Linked DNA regions of Homo sapiens: all the other regions are linked to region 3. Evidence: promoter capture Hi-C in human tissues and cell types (Jung and others, 2019). All regions are on one chromosome and are shown on one strand. The core of a region is centred on a gene start or on the middle of the fragment in contact, and the rest is flanking DNA. Distances in the headings are between cores, read along the strand shown. Region 1 holds the start of CALML4 (calmodulin like 4). Region 2 has its middle 2.3 kb from the start of CLN6. Region 3 holds the start of MAP2K5 (mitogen-activated protein kinase kinase 5). Region 4 overlaps PIAS1 (protein inhibitor of activated STAT 1).

What was found. Contacts are between HindIII fragments. The study calls those that stand out against the background at their distance.
Region 1: the fragment with the promoter of CALML4 here is called in contact with the fragment with the promoter of MAP2K5 in region 3 in 2 of the 25 tissues and cell types used here (adrenal gland and dorsolateral prefrontal cortex).
Region 2: a fragment that was not itself captured here is called in contact with the fragment with the promoter of MAP2K5 in region 3 in 1 of the 25 tissues and cell types used here (dorsolateral prefrontal cortex).
Region 4: a fragment that was not itself captured here is called in contact with the fragment with the promoter of MAP2K5 in region 3 in 1 of the 25 tissues and cell types used here (lymphoblastoid cells).

What each region holds. Positions count from the first base shown.
Region 1 is chr15:68,203,082-68,206,902 of GRCh38, reverse strand. CALML4 (calmodulin like 4) reads left to right here and starts at 1,571. Exons shown (of 5, transcript NM_033429.3): 1 at 1,571-1,658; 2 at 1,752-1,782. The coding sequence starts at 1,656. RefSeq lists an enhancer at 578-872. The HindIII fragment of the contact is 22,474 bases long and covers 1-3,821 here.
Region 2 is chr15:68,230,082-68,234,035 of GRCh38, reverse strand. It overlaps a transcript of CLN6 not described here. Among named protein-coding and RNA genes, the nearest start is that of CLN6, 2.3 kb to the right of the region's middle. RefSeq lists an enhancer at 3,564-3,613. The HindIII fragment of the contact is 2,814 bases long and covers 389-3,202 here.
Region 3 is chr15:67,540,337-67,544,145 of GRCh38, reverse strand. It overlaps MAP2K5 (mitogen-activated protein kinase kinase 5), which reads right to left and starts at 1,443. Exons shown (of 22, transcript NM_145160.3): 1 at 676-1,443. The coding sequence starts at 810. It overlaps MAP2K5-DT (MAP2K5 divergent transcript), which reads left to right and starts at 1,516. Exons shown (of 1, transcript NR_186334.1): 1 at 1,516-3,078. RefSeq lists a silencer at 1,308-1,427 and enhancers at 2,301-2,350, 2,003-2,503. The HindIII fragment of the contact is 7,088 bases long and covers 1-2,535 here.
Region 4 is chr15:68,120,726-68,124,844 of GRCh38, reverse strand. All of the region lies in intron 2 of PIAS1 (protein inhibitor of activated STAT 1), which reads right to left. Among named protein-coding and RNA genes, the nearest start is that of PIAS1, 68 kb to the right of the region's middle. The HindIII fragment of the contact is 4,758 bases long and covers 1-4,119 here.

The DNA of each region.
Region 1 (3,821 bases), core at 322-2,821, 660 kb before region 3:
TCGTGAACCCTCACGCAGCCATTGCCCCACGCTGGTGTTTTCCATCTGTGCGTCACCCCCGGAGACACCTACACACATAAGGAGGGAGTTGGCCGGGGCACCCCAGCACACACTGGCCTAACTCCAAGGAGGCACCTCATCTCTTCTGGAGCCCCTTCCCACAGGCAAGGGGATTCAGAGGGAGCATGTTGGCCTGGCCGCCTTCAGGCTTCCAGAGTCCCAAGTGACTTTCCTTGATGTCCTTCTCTCCATCCTCTGCACAGAGGCAGCCTTCCCTCCTCTTATCCCTGCCATGGGGTTTGGGAGGGGGAGCCTCAAACTCTGACAGGGAGGAGTCGGAGTCCCCAGCTAAAATTCTCTGGGTCTAGAAACAGGTGTAAAGCGATTCTGGGGATGTGATTTGGGAGAAAAGCACACTTTCCACACAGAGGCGGTCAGGAAAGGAGCGGGGAGGGGAGAGTGGGGCACAGGCAGCGCCTCCCGTCTATGCGCCTGTGTGCAAAGTGGCACAATGCCCCCCTTCCTATTGGCAGTGCAGCCCCTGGCCAGCAACCACTCGCACCTGGGCTGGGGGCCTTTGTGTAGGGCACACCTGTGCAGCCACACCTACTTGTAGAGCCTCATAGACTCAGCTGTGGACAAAAGCCTCACGCCCCAAACAGGGAAATGGGATCTCAAGGGGAAGAAGCTGGGGAGGCCTCACACCCTGCCCCCATTTCCTCCTATGTGGGGGAGGGGAGCAGCACGAACTCCTGAAGACTTGGGAGCGTCAGCAGCTTCTGCGGAAGGGGTGGGGCTGAGGGTGGAGAGAGGAAGGGAAGGAAGAAAAGGGGAGCCTTCCTGGCCAGGGTAACCGGCACTAAGAGGCCTCACTCCAAGCCCCCGAGGAGCCTGTGGTGGGGCTGGAGACCCGGCTCAGGCCCCTCCACCACCCTTAAAGTCCTCAGAAGGTGGGAACTGAACTGGCACAGGATGGGAACCGGCTGTGCGCTGGCCACTTGATTTTGCCAGCTGCCCTGTAATTCAGCTGGTGAGGAAACTGAGGCACAGACTGAGGTAGAATGATTCGCCAGTCACTCAGCAAGTCAGCAGACGGGGAGGACTGAATCCCAGCCTGAGAGCACCGAAGCTTGTATCCCTGCAATACCGAGCCCCAAGCCTGCGAGCCCCGGTGCCCATCTCTGAGTTAGGCCGTCTTGGAAGGGTTCCCTTCCTCCTACAAGATGGTGTGTGAGGAGCCTTCAATACGACCCGGGGTGTAAAGTGTCCAACTCTAGTAGGGGCCTGATGGCATCCCCGCCGAGTCCCAGGAGAGAGAGAGAAGACCCCTTCCTGGAGTCCAGGGCTCCCGGGAAGAAACACTGGCATTTGTCCCTTTGCTTCGGCTTCTGGAGGCAGAGACTCTGAGCCCAGGGAGAGCCTTCTGCAGCCCCATTTCCTCAAAAATCCAACCTGCCCAGGTGGCGGGTCATGAGCTGTGCTCAGGAAGCTGGAATCTGACCCTGGTGGCGTCGGGCCCAGTCTCCATGGCAGCCGAGCATTTATTACCCGGGCCTCCACCCAGCTTGGCAGACTTTAGACTTGAGGCTGGAGGAAAGGGAACTGAACGCGGTTCTGGGAGCAGCAAGCCCACGGGTAGCAGCCGAGGCCCCAGAATGGTGAGTGTGAGGGTCTGTGTCGGCCTGGCCAGGGCTGGGGGCGTGAACCTCAGGTGGAGCCCTCCCCTGACTGTTTTCCTTTCTCTGCTGCAGGCCAAGTTTCTTTCCCAAGACCAAATTAATGGTAGGTTGGGTTTGTTCTTTGATTAGCAACTCAGCAAAATATGGGTCTCATTAGGCAATTTGCTCTGCTCATGTTTTCTTGGTGGGAAGGAAGGTGGCTGTGGGAGAGCTGGGCCCACCCAGGGCCAAGAGCTGCGGGGAGGCTGCTGTTGGCGGGGTGGGGGTTGGGGGTAAGCCTCCAAAATAGACATGTGGCTTTATACTTGTCAGTGTGACTTACAAGCCAGGGCGCTAAGACAGAACTTACTAGGTTTCCCTCCAGAACCTGACCAGTTGGATTTGGGGACTGAGGGGACTGGGGATGGAGAGAGAGACCATTAAAGGTATGGCTGGCAGCAGGGAAAGAGGAGGGGCTTTGTAATTGAGACAGAACAGAGGCCAGGTCTGCACTCTCTGGCAGGATGCGTCTACTCTCTGCGCCTCAGTCTCCCTATCTGTAAAATGGAGGGTCCACTGAGCCCCCTTTGCCCTGGCATCAAGCCTGGTTTGGGCGTGAGCACTTTATTCCCTGGGTCCCCTACTCTGCCAGCCCTCGACCAGGCTTCAGTTTCACACCGTGCAGGGTTCTATTTCCAGAAGGCCAAGAGCAAAGAGTTGCGTTACAAAGAACTTGGGGGCCCAGACCTGAGCCAGGGGAGCCTCATGGCTGCAGCCCCCCTGCACCTGGCAGGAGAGGCCCAGGAGGCACAGCCAGCTGCTGCTTGAGGTTGTGACCCTGAAACCTGTCCCAACAGTGGACGTCAATGGGCCTGAGAGTCCCCCGAGGCATCCCATTCCTCCAGGTCTTTGCTGAAACATCGCCTTCTCAGTGAGTCCTTCGCTGACCACTGGAGATAAAATTACAGGCACCTTGGGCCCTTGTGATCCAGGGTAGGGTCCTGAGAGCCCAGCCAAGTGGGGTTAGGGTTACCTGGGCAGGAGTTCCAGAGTTCTGGGTATTCTGAGCTTGGTCCAGAGGGGCAGGAATTGTGAGCTCCAGGTGGGCACCTCCACGTAGAACCCTGGAACTCTTTATCCCAAGAGGAGGGCCAGGGCAGGAGCAGGGACTTTTAAAACACAGGGCCCGGGGCAGTGCCCTCTTGTCCAGGTCTAACGGTGATAATGAATGGTGGACTGAGGGCTGGAGTCCAGCCTTCAGCCTCAGCATCCTCCCACCCATGCCTGGTTTTGAGGCTCACTGACCCTCCCTCCTGGGATAGCCAAAGCTCCCAGAAGGGAAGAAGGTAAATTGTCTTTGTATCCCAGTATCTGACACCAAGAAAGTGGCCACCAGTGTTTAATGAGTGTGTGAAAGACTGGATGGGGTGGCCTAGCGAAGTGGGAAGAACAGGGGCTTTGGAGGCAGCAGACCTGAAGCCTAATCACCCTTGAGCCTCGGTTTTCTCACCTATGAAGTAGGATATGCCACCTTACCAGGCTGCTGCGAGCCACGGACAGAGGGGAATAATGTCAGTTACATGCTGGACGCTGGGCCAGGCATAGCCAGGTGTCACCCACATGTGGGCTGGGGCTGGCTCACTACAGCTAGCAAGAGCCATAGTTTTAGGAATTTTGCAAGCAGGATGTTAAAGCCAGCCATTATTAAATAATGTAGGATCAAACAGTGTTTCAATCCCTACATCTATCTGTACAAAAAGTTAAAAAGACAGCCCTATTGTGATCAGTGGAGATGGAGATTTGAAAGAAGTTTCAATTTAATGAATGTGTTTGGTAAAAGGGTGAGAAATAGTTTAACAGTAGATCACATCAGGTTTAATGACCATTCATTCATTGGAAAAAGAATCGCACTCATTGGCGCGCAGCTTCATTTGTCAAATCATGGTTGAATCGAAACTATAGGTTGGCAATGGATATAAGAGTTGGCAAAACTTGGGCTGAGTGCAGTGGCTCACGTCTGTAATCCCAGCACTTTGGGAGGCCGAGGCATGTGGATCACCTGATGTCAGGGGTTTGAAACCAGCCTGGCCAACATGGTGAAACCCCATCTCTACTAAAAATACAAAACTGGCCAGGTGCAGTTGGCTCATGCCTGTAATCCCA
Region 2 (3,954 bases), core at 546-3,045, 690 kb before region 3:
CATCAACCTGTCCCCCGTTGCTTCTAGTAATCACAACCACAAGAATCTGAATTAAACACAACCTGGGGACCTTCTCTCTCCCCACAGTGTGACTTCTGGTCACCCTCCCAGCTTCTTCAGCCAGATGGGGAGTGTCCTGCAGGCAATACCAGTTGACACAGAAAGACAGTCTCCATCTTCCCCCAGTGCCCCAGTCCCTTGCTGTCTGTCCTTGTGCAGCCTTCTCACTGTGCACAGTCTTGTTGCCCACACTTAGAGATCCCCTAGTCAGGCCCCTCCTGGCTGCCTCTCTCCAAAGTAACTGAGTTTTCCTGGTCCCACTTCGTCTGTCTGCCTTCTGGAGTCCCAGCCTCTGGATCCAGGATTCTGTGTGTCATGTCTCTCAGATGGTAGCTGCAGTCTAGCAGGGGCCTTCAAAGCCTTCTGGTGGCAGGGCAGTGTGGGAAGATGTTTTGAAGAAAGAGAAATTTTCAAAAGCTCTTAAGAGACTGGATAGAAAGGGTACTGGATTAGGAGTGGAGACTGGATTCTGGCCTGGCTTGGCTTCTAACTCGCTGTGTGGCTTTAGGCTTCATTTTCCGCAGCTGCAGAATGATGAAATTAGGCAAGATCAAAGGCTTTCCAGGGAGCCCTTTGGAGGTGACTTGGCCACGGCCTTGTAACCATAAGGGGAGAAGAGATGGCACCTGGGACCCTGCTTCTCTTCACTCAGGGCACCACCCCCCCCACCCCCCCGTAGGTGTTTCATACATTGAGCATGCTGGAAAGATCTTTGTCTTAGCCCAGGTTTCCAAAGAAGCAGAGCAGGGCAGCATGTATGCTAACACTGTATTGGGGAGTGTGGTGGCTGGGAAGGGGAAGTGAGGACAAGGGGGAGTGAGACAGAGGAGAAGGGAGGGCACACAAGAGAGTGCACTGCGGAGCTGGCCACCACTCCGTCTGGAAGGATGCTAGACCTTACAGGACCTTCTTTATTATTTATTTATTTATTTTGAGACTGAGCCTTGCTCTGTCGCCCAGACTAGAGTGCAGTGGCGTGATCTCGGCTCACTGCAACCTCTGCCTCCTGGGTTCATGCAATTTCTCCTGCCTCAGCCTCCCAAGTAGCTGGGATTACAGGCACATGCCACGACACCCAGTTCGTTTTTGTATTTTTAGTAGAGACAGGGTTTCACCATGTTGGTCAGGCTGGTCTTGAACTCCTGACCTCACGTGGTCCACCCACCTTGGCCTCCCAACGTGCTGGGATTACAGGTGTGAGCCACTGCGCATGGCCCAGGACCTTCTTTAAAGTGGCTGTGTGAACTCGGAACTCAGGCCAGTCTGTCCAGAAAGAGGAAGAGAGAAAAATTTATTTGCTAATCCCTGTCTCTTGCTGGTCAAAGTTCACTCCATGGAGTGTCCAACACTCCTGCACTTCTGAGGCCAAGGGTGTGGGGCCAAGGGGAGAGGAGGTGCAGTTGACTTCTGCCTGGGTGAAGTCAGTTGTCACAGCAGCTGGACAAAACAAGTGGCAAGGAGCTGGAAGACTGGTGTGTCTAACGGATCTTAGGCGATACATTTAAAAGTATCTGATACAGGCCTGGTGCAGTGGCTCACGCCTGCAATCCCAGCACTTTGAGAGACTAAGGCGGGCAGATCACAAGGTCAGTAGATCAAGACCAGCCTGGCTAACATGGTGAAACCCCGTCTCTACTAAAAATATAAAAAATTAGCCAGGCGTGGTGGTGCATGCCTGTAGTCCCAGCTACTTGGGAGGGTGAGGCAGGAGAATCACTTGAACCAGGGAGGCAGAGGTTGCAGCAAGCCGAGATCGTGCCATTGCACTCCAGCCTGGGCGACAGAGCAAGACTCCGTCTCAAAAAAAAAAAAAAATATCGGATACAGCTATAATTGAAAAGTAGTGGGAACCTCTACTAAAAGAAAAGTCAAAACCACCAAGATGCATAATACCAAAGGACCTTCTCAGCTGAAAGATTTCTTGATGCTGGCCACTGAAATTGCAGCTCAGAGAGCTGAGACTAGACTCCCTTCTGATGTGCAGGGCCCATGTTCTCAGATAATCACAAACAAGATCCTGCAAATGTGTACCCCTCAGCTTTACTCTATCCTCCTCCCCCAAATTTCCATGCAATTTAAAGAGCTAATGAAGATGGTGTTTTTAAAGTGTCCTGGTGGGATGGGAAAGAGAGGGGGCTGATAATCCCACCGGACAGGGAGAATTCTCATCTTGTTCATTCAGAAAGGCCCAGCCCCCTGCCAGGTTGGACTCCCCTCCCCTCAAGGGGTAGCAGCGGACTCCAGAAAAAAGGCAGATGTGTTTGTATTTAAGAGATTGGAGGATTAAATGAGCTAGAGAGGCTCCCTCCACACGGCCTCATCCTCTGATGGCTGGAAGCCCACCTCTGAGTGTTATTAAATCGATGATGACATCATGGGCACTGCATGCCCCTCCCTCTGGAGCCCAGCAGGCTTGCAAAGCCTGCAGAGGATAAGAAATTGGGGTCAGAGCGGGAAGCCTCAATCCTTCTTCTCTGGTGTATACCGAGATCGATGTGTAGATCAGATTCACCAGAATTAAATCTGGGGCCCCGTCTGAGTGCTGTCCTTGGCTGACCCTTGGGCACAGTACTTCAGCTCAGGGCCTAGGTTTTTCTCTGCTACAAAACAGAGACAATCACCTGTTCTCCTTACGACCTGGTGTGTGTGGATCAAATGAAACAAGGAAAGCTTTAAAGCAAATGTGTTCTTCAGGGGACCAGGGGCGGAGGGGGGGGATTGAGGTGTGGCCTGTGGGCTGCTAGAGCCCAGGATGGGGCTGATGGAAAATGACTCCCAGGCAGGCAGTCCTAGCCTCCCACAGCCAAGAAAGGACATGCAGGTTCTGACCAAAGGGGAAAGAAATAAATCCAATAAACATCTCCCAAGAAGAAAGACAGGAAAGAAAATAGAATGGAAATAGGCATAGCTCAGACCCCTCATGGTCTGGGAAGCAGACCAAGGATACTGGGCAGGGGAATGGCACATTGCATTTGCATCTGAGGCACATCCCTTCCAAGAGGCACATCCCTTCTGCAGCGGCTTGAGGGCTGGGTGAGAGGAGACAGGACTGGAGACCTGCACATGTCGTGTGCGCCTGGTGTAGCACGGGGGTGGTGGGGAGAATGGGAGTTGGTTGCAGTTGTTCTAGTTAGCGGCCTGGGCTGCTGACAGTGACCGTGGGGAGGAGAGAGTTTGTGACATTGACAGTGGTGTGGAAGGTAACCTTTCTGTGGAGGGAAACCTCAGGTCTCGAGACGGGCTATTGTAAATAACTTAGTCCACCAGTGCTGGGCTCTCTGCTAAGAGTTTCATATAGTCATCACAACTCCAATGTAGTAGATGCAATAGGCATCTTCTTGTTACAGATGAGTAAACTGAAGCTGTGAGGGGTTGAGCCATTTGCCCGCATCACAGCTAGTTCAAAGTGGTACCACTAATGAAGTCCTGGCAATCTGCCCTGCAGGCTGTTCTCAGGTTTGACCTTTGGTTCTGTTTTTCACTTGAGGATGCTGTCCCCTTAGGTTCTGTCTGTCTTGTATGCTCCGGTGACTCACGAGCCTGTCCACTGGGTTCCCAGGTCTCGCCTCAGCTTCAGACCACCGGTCCAACAGCCTTCCTGACCCACCTCAAGCTTAATGCGTTCAAAGATGAATCTTTATTTACACGAAATCTGCTCTAGCCCACTTCCCGGGGGGTGCCTCCACTATCCACCCAGGGGCAGAATCCGGCCACTGCCTGAACTCTTCTCCCCTCACCCCCCACATCCAGAGTCCCAGTCACCATACCTCTCACACGACTCTAGATGTCACCAACTCGCTCCTTCCCACTGTCACCGCCAGCCCCTCACTAGAACATCTGCAACCCACGTGCTGCACCACGCGGGTGCTACACGTGCAGGTCTCCAGTCCTGCC
Region 3 (3,809 bases), core at 194-2,693:
CCGAGGCAAGCAAATCGCAGGAGTTCAAGACCAGCCTGGGCAACATGGCAATACCTCGTCTCTACAAGATACAAAAATTATCCAGGTGTGATGGCATGTGCCAGCTACTTGGGAGGCTGAGGTAGGAGAATCGCTTGAGCCCAGGAGGCAGAGGCTGCAGTGAGCCGAGATCGTGCCACAGCACTGCAGCCTGAGCGACAGAGTGAGGCCCTGTCTCAAAATAAATTAATGAAACAGTGTGCTCAAACATGGTAAGTTAAAGTTGTCCTTTTTCCCTTTCTCAGCTGGTCACCAAGTTCAGAGAACTCAGTAGAAAAACAAGGCTGGAATCTGTCCAAGGACATTCCCCGAAACACTTGGGGGGAAAAAACCTCTCTTCTAGATTCAGCAGTTTGCATTTGCGTGGTTGTGTCTATATGTGTGTCCCAGCCCGGGCCATGAGCTCTCTGAGGGCAGGGGTTCAGTCAGATTGATCTATCTCCCCAGGGTCCTAGACATTTGCCAGGTTTTAGTGGTTGCAATTTATCAATGCTGTGCCTGAAGCAATAAAACTGCCTCCACAGGAAGCCAGCAGTAGCCATTGCCACTGGCTCAGGTCACCAGTGGTCAAGGTGCTGACTACTCAAGTCCCTGAGTCCCCCTTGCTGGCATCCGGACACTGAGATTACCACTCACCAGCACATCCCTGAAGAGTAACTGCGGCCCGGAGTGCACTGTCCAGTCCACCGCGCCACTATTTGGGATCTTGATGCGAATTACCAGCACCTGGTTCTCCATGGCAGGAAAGGGGCCAAGGGCTAGCCACAGCATTACAGGTTAAAGAGGCTCACATCCTGGGGTATGGGAAACCCACTGGCCGCTGGTTAGGAGGGGGCTCCAAGAGGTGACAAGGGGAGTGACGGGCAGAGGACAGAGGGTGAAAACAAGGGAATGGAGGATGAGGGGGAGGGAAGAGGGGAGGGGTGATCAGGAACGCACCCGCAGGCACCGAGCCTGCCCAGGCTGTCGGGGGTCTGAGGTGTCTCCCGGGGAGGGTGCACCGGGAAGCGGGCAAAGGCCCGCAGGAACTAGCGGAGGTCGGAAGGTTCTGGAGTTGAGCGAACGCTATGGTGAAGGTCTCTGCCGCCGTGTGGGTATGAGGAGGCAGCAGGGCAAGGACTCGGTTTGGGGGAGATACAGCGGCAGGTGTCCACCGCTCGTCAGTGGACTAGGAGAGGGTCCTCGACTGGAGGGGACTCAGTCCGGGGCTATTAAGAAAGAGCCCCAGGGCCGCCACACCACGGAGAGTCCCCGCGGGAGGTTCAAGGGGCGAGTCTTCTGCCCCACCCGGAGACACAGGGCGCGGCGCGCGCAGGCTGAGCTCCGGCCACCCGAGGCCGCGCGGACTGGCGGCGGCTGCGGCGGCGGCGACGGCGGTAGCGGCGAGAGGAGGAGGAGGAAGGCGGCGGCGACACTGTTACTCCGGAACCAAAACGCGCGGCGCCGGAACCCCGGGAGCCGACGAGCGGGACCCGCCTCCCGCGGCGCCATGTTGGAAAAGGGCAGCAGCTCCCGGGAGGATGCGCCCCCGGCGTGGGAAGCCGAGGAACCGGCGCGCGGCGCGCGGCGCGTGGCGCGTGGCGAGTCGGGGAGAGACTGGTCTTGCTCGCTCAGGAGACCCTCATCGCCCACAGAGCGCCCGCGGCGACCCGGTCACGGCCCTTCCATTTCCTGACCCTGCTTAATGACAGCGAGGTGAAAACATCTACCAAACGAAGGGTAAAAGGCTGGAGTCCGCCAAAAGCCAATTTAAGGCTTAACATTGCAGACCGTTTGTCTTTACAAAAGCTTCAAAGACGGGGCTGCAGCTCCCGGTTATCCCCACTTTGTCAAGCCATGAATCTGAATGTTCGTGGGGTTGTGTGCATCGAATCAGCAAGAGCAAGGCAAGAATTCAAGAAATAGTTCTTTTTTATCCCCCCTTCCAAGTCACAGGTTCAGAGGATCATCATCTTTCTCCCACATTAGCAAAACATATTTGCATTTTTCAGTGAAGTTCTTTACCGCACGAGTGCCCTAAAATAGCAAACAGTTCCCTGTTCAAAAGCAATAGTAAAGAAATTCGCCGAAGAGTTTAATTGCCTGGGGACAGCTGCAGTAGTCGCATCATCGTCTCTTATTAAACTGTTGCAGAAATATTCGGTCTAGTCCATGTATTTTCAACTAAATAGCACTGCTTACGCAGTTGGTGATATGGTGATATCACGGAAGTAGCAATAAACCTTGGTTATCTTTTTTTTTTTTTTTTTTGAGACGGAGTCTCGCTCCGTCGCCCAGGCTGGAGTGCAACGGCGCGACCTCTACTCACCACAACCTCAGCCTCCCGGATTCAAGCGATTCTCCTGCCTCAGCACTACCACCCCCACCAGCCCCCAACCCCTGCCGAGTAACTGGGACTACAGGCGTGCGCCATCCGTGCCCGCTCATTTTTGTATTTTCAGTAGAGACTGGGTTTCACTATGTTGGCCAGGCTGGTCTCAAACTCCTGACCTCGTGATCCGCCCACCTCAGCCTCCCAAAGTGCTGGGGGGATTACAGGTGTGAGCCACCGCGCCCGGCCAACCTTGGTTATCTTCAAATGCCTTGTTACCTCAGATTTTAAAGTGCATAAGGTTGTAGAACGATGGTGCCTCTACAGAAGTTTCTTTACAAATTGTAATGTGTAGGTTCGTCCTTTATTTCTTTCTTATGAAGGTGCACGAATTGGCTTTACTTTCTGGGGTTGAATTTTGTATAAACTCGGTTGAGGAGGCTTGTCAGTTTCCCTTCTAACAGTAAGGTGCTTGATTAATGTGAGAGAAAAAAATTAATGTTGGTCATTTTCAGTTACAATACCAAAATTTTTTCTGCATACTTTACTCTGAGTTACTTTTATATTTAATTTGAAAGGCCATTGTAGGAGATAAATTATCACATTTTAAGTTACTGTAAATCAATAGCTTAGGTAGAAATTCATTTAGTCAGATCCTTCAGATATTCTAGGAATTTCCCCTTTTCACCTGCACTTCACTTCTGTGAAAAATAAACCGTTCATCAAAAGTCCTCATGTACTTTTATTAAAAGTTCATTTCCTATTATTTTAGAAAATAGACCACGAAACTAGAGATTTTCTATGAACCTGTGATTTGTTAAAATGTCTCTTTTATTCGAAGTACCGTGGGGAAAACCAACTCAATTTGCCAAATTTGCATACATATTCTGAAGCTTTTCTTACACTAATGGCAAACTCATATTTCTGTTCCAATATTTGCAGAGCCAATATAATTACACGTCAGCTCTTCATAGCCTTTATGTAGTAAGAAATCTTAACTTTGATGATTTGAGCAAGGATTTTTCCAGAAAGTTATAACTCTCATTGCGAGAAGCATCATAATCACTGATAATACATTCCACTTGATATCATAAATGACAAAATATAACTTTCTGATCTTTACCAAATTGAATACTGTCTAAATTTAAGGAATATTTAGTATTTAACATCGAAGTTGCATGTGATCTTAAGAAGTTTGCATTTAGTACTTTTTTTCATTTTATTTTATTTTATTTATTTATTTTGAGACGGAGTCTTACTCTGTCACCCAGACTGTAGTGCACTGGCGCAGTCTCGGCTCATTGCAACCTCCACCTCCCAGGTTCAAGCGATTCTCCTGCCTCAGCCTCCCAAGTAACTAGGACTATAGGTATGTGCCACCACGCCCAGCTAATTGTTGTACTTTTAGTAGAGACGAGGTTTCACCATGTTGGCCAGGCTGGTCTGGAACTCCTGACCT
Region 4 (4,119 bases), core at 868-3,367, 580 kb before region 3:
GCCCCTAGAAAGACAGAAATGATAGAATATGAGAACATGGGATTTTTAAAATGAGCCTATTTGACATTTTAAACTATATTCATTTATAACTTTTGGGTTTTGTTTATTTGTTTGTTTGTTTGTTTGAGCCAGAGTCTCTCTCTGTTGCTCAGGCCGGAGTGCAGTGGTGCAACCTCAGCTCACAACAACATCTGCCTCCCGGTTCAAGAGATTCTCATGCCTCAGCCTCCCAAGTAGCTGGGATTACAGGCATGCACCACCACACCCGGCTAATTTTGTATTTTTAGTAGAGATGGGGTTTCACCATGTTGGCCAGACTGGTCTCAAGCTCCTGACCTTAAGTGATCCGCCAGCCTCGGCCTCCCAAAGTGCTGGGATTACAGGAGTGAACCACCACACCTGGCTGTTCATTTATAACTTTGAATGAAAAAAAAAAAACAAAAAACAACAACAAAAAAAACCACAACCCAAGAAATAGTGGAAGTCACGACTGTGGTAAATGGGCCAAAGAAAAAATATCTGTATGTCCACAGGATAAAGATGAGATCTTCCTAACTTCTGACTGTCTTTACAGGAAATGTTTTACTTCTTTACATAGTTATAGCCATCAGTAGTTGAAGAATGCAAGAGTAATACCCTGATTCAAATTCTCTGGAATACCCATGTTATTTTTTCATTTCAAAATAAAAATAACCTCCCACCATCATTATCAATAAAGATTACACAATTATAAAAATTCAGACAATACAGACACAGAGAGATAAAGGTATTACTAGCATATACTTTCTCAGATCTTTTTGTGCATGTGTATACATATGTACACACGTATGTGTACATATATGTATACGTGTGTGTGTGTGTATATTCACACATATGTATACATATACCTATATTTAGGTTTATATTATGTCCACATCTTTGTTGCCTGTGTTTTCCGCCTATAATTATGTTTGGACATGGTACAAATACAGATCAACATTATCATTTACAATGAAGCATAGCAGTAGTGAAGGTACATCTATTTTATCAATAAATGCCCTGAAGACAGAAATTATACAAGTTTCCTTTTATAAATAAGGTTTCTATAATATCACAGAATATACTTAATTAGGTACTACTCCTGTGAGTTCACTTACATTTCTAGATGTGGCTCTGAGTAATTTTAAATTAGTTTCTAAGCAAATTGTTTCCTATAGTGCAGACTCCTCCATGTTATTTAACATAAGGAAAAATAGTCTCCATGGTATTCCATGGAAAGATTTTTTTATATATAAGGCACTTTTTAGTACAACCATGTTGTTTCTTAATCTACTAACTTTAAAATTACTTTTCTAAAATAGATACATGACATATGCCAAGACTTATAGACAAGAAAATGAGACTAAGTAGTAGTTGCAATTTTAACATTTAAAAAATGCCCCAGAACAGTAAACTCATAACTTTGTGTGTCTCTGTGTGTAAGAGGGTATGTAGAATTGCATATAAGAATTTTGGGACAGGTGTGGTGGCTCACACCTGTAATCCCAGCACTCTGGGTGGCCAAGGCAGGAGGACTGCTTGACGCCAGGAGTTTGAGACCAGCCTGAGTAACACTACAAGACACTCTCTACAAAAAGTTTTAAAAATGTGCCAGGCATGGTGGCTCACACCAGTAGGTCCTAGCTACTTGGGAGGATAAGGCAGGAGGACCACTTTAGCCTAGGAGTTTGAGGTTGCAGTGAGCTACGCTTGTACCACTGCATTCCAGCCTGGGAGACAGAATGAGACCTTCTCTCTCAAAAAGAAAAAGAAAAAAATAAAAAGAATTTTGTATGTATAACACTCTGAGATTTAGGCTTAAAAAAAAAAAAACAGCTTTTACCTTACAAGAAATGTTTCCAAGCTTCTCAATTCTTGCAGATACTTCCCAAGAAAGAAAATAAAATTCTATTTTCTTAGGGTTCCTCTAGTTGGCTTATTTAGTTGGATGAGAAACTAAATGAAAGGGAATCACTGCAGATACTGCATTGCTAAGTTTTGAAAAAATAGTGACTATTACTCTTCCAAAAATGTATTTTGGGTATATATAATAAGCACAGTGCTGATCATATCACTTCTGTTTCAAAGATTTTCATTTGTTCCCCACTTTATGAAGAGAGTCTACTCATCTTGGTGTGGCAATCAAATTAAGCTAATAGCATTTCATTTTCTTCCTATAAAACCAACCAAAATAAAATGATTAAATAATTAAAAGAAATAGGATTTATAAAGTGTTTTAGAACCACTGTGAAAGGATTTTTTTCATTGTTATTTCCTAGCAGCAACTTACTAGCCTCTAGGATTGCATTTCACTTCATGAGTTCAGGTAAATCTCACATTATCCTTTTAGCTTGGCAGAGTTCTAAACCATCCAATAGTTGCCACCTAGGACTCCCTTGTCCTTATTCCTCCCTTCTGGCTCACAAGTGATTCTTCTAGGGCCTAACTCCCTTGAGAACTATAGTTTCAATTTCTTGTTCACCACAGTATTCAACGCTATGTTACCTGCGACTGTCAGATATAAGGGTTTTGTTTGTTTATTTTTTGTCTTTCTGGTGGAACTACAATGAAGTCAACTACCATATCAACTTGGCCATTTTCCCCTTTGATGCTTCCCCTGAGAATACTGTTTTCTAGCAACTTGCCCAAGTACTCTGAGATTATCCTTTGCCCTTAAAGTTTATTTGGTGTTTGTTTTGAGACAGGGTCTTGCTCTGTTACCCAGGCAGGAGTGCAGTGGCTCGATCTTGGCTCACTGCAACCTCCATCTTCCAGGCTCAAGTGATCCTCCTGCCTCAGCCTCCTAAGTAGCTGGGACTACAGGTGTGTGCCACCACATCTGGCTAATTTTTTGTATTTTTTGTAGAGACAGAGTTTCGCCATATCACCCAGGCTGGTCTCAAACACTTGGACTCAAGCAATCTGCCCGCCTTGGCCTCCCAAAGTGCTGGGATTACAGGTGTGAGCCACCATGCCCAGCCTCTTGAAGTTTTTTAGTGAGCTGTCCTCCAGGTCTATTCATTCCAAATACGTTCAATAGGGCTTCTTTGGATTTAAGTAGAGATGGCTGTAAAGAAATACTAACCTGAAGCTTAGAGAGAGGTCTGGGTAGAGATAAACAATTAGGAAATCTCTCATACAGAGAGCAGATTAAGTTATGGGAGTGAATGAGATGACCTGAGAATACCCTGTGGAATCAAAACACAACAGAATCCCTAGGACCACCAATATTTAAAGGTTAAGTAAGATAAGAGGTGGCCAGAAATACAGAAGAAAAAGCAAGAGAAGAGAGAATTTAAAAGAAATAGGAGTGCTGAGGCAGGGCAATCAATAAACCCTATGCACAAAAAAACAAGAATAAAGCAACACCAAAGCAAATCATAACCAAATTGCTTAAGACCCAGTGAAAACAAAATCTTCAAAGCAGCCAGAAGAAAAAAGACAAAGGAAATATATAGAACAGCATACAGATAACAGCAGATTTCTTGTCAAAAATAATGCAAGCAGAAAACAGAGTAAGAAGTGGAGTAAAATTTTTGAAGTGCCAAAAGAAAAAAAAAAAACAAAAAAACATGTCAACTGTTAACACTTTACTCAGCAAAAACATCTTACAAAAACAAAGGTAAAATAAAAACTCTGAGACATACAAAAGGTAAAAGAATTCACCACAGTCCTTACATTTTAAAGAAATGGTAAAGAAAGTCCTTCAAGGAATAGGAAAACAACACCAGATTAGAATCTGGATATACACAAAAGAATGAACAATATCAGAAATGGAAACAACATCGATAAATATAAAGAATTGTTTATTTAAGTATCCACAAAAGAGAACTGATTGTTTAAAGCAAAAATAACAACAACATACTGCAGTTTAAAACTTTTATAGAAGTAGGTCAGGCCCGGTGGCTCATGCCTGTAATCCCAGCACTTTGCGAGGCCGAGTCAGGAGTTCAAGACCAGCCTGGTCAACATGGTGAAAAGTTGTCTCTACTAAAAATACAAAAATTAGCCAGGCGTGGTGGCGGGTGCCTGTAATCCCAGCTACTTGGGAGTCTGAGGCAGGAGAATCACTTGAATTCGGGAGGTGGAGGTTGCAGTGAG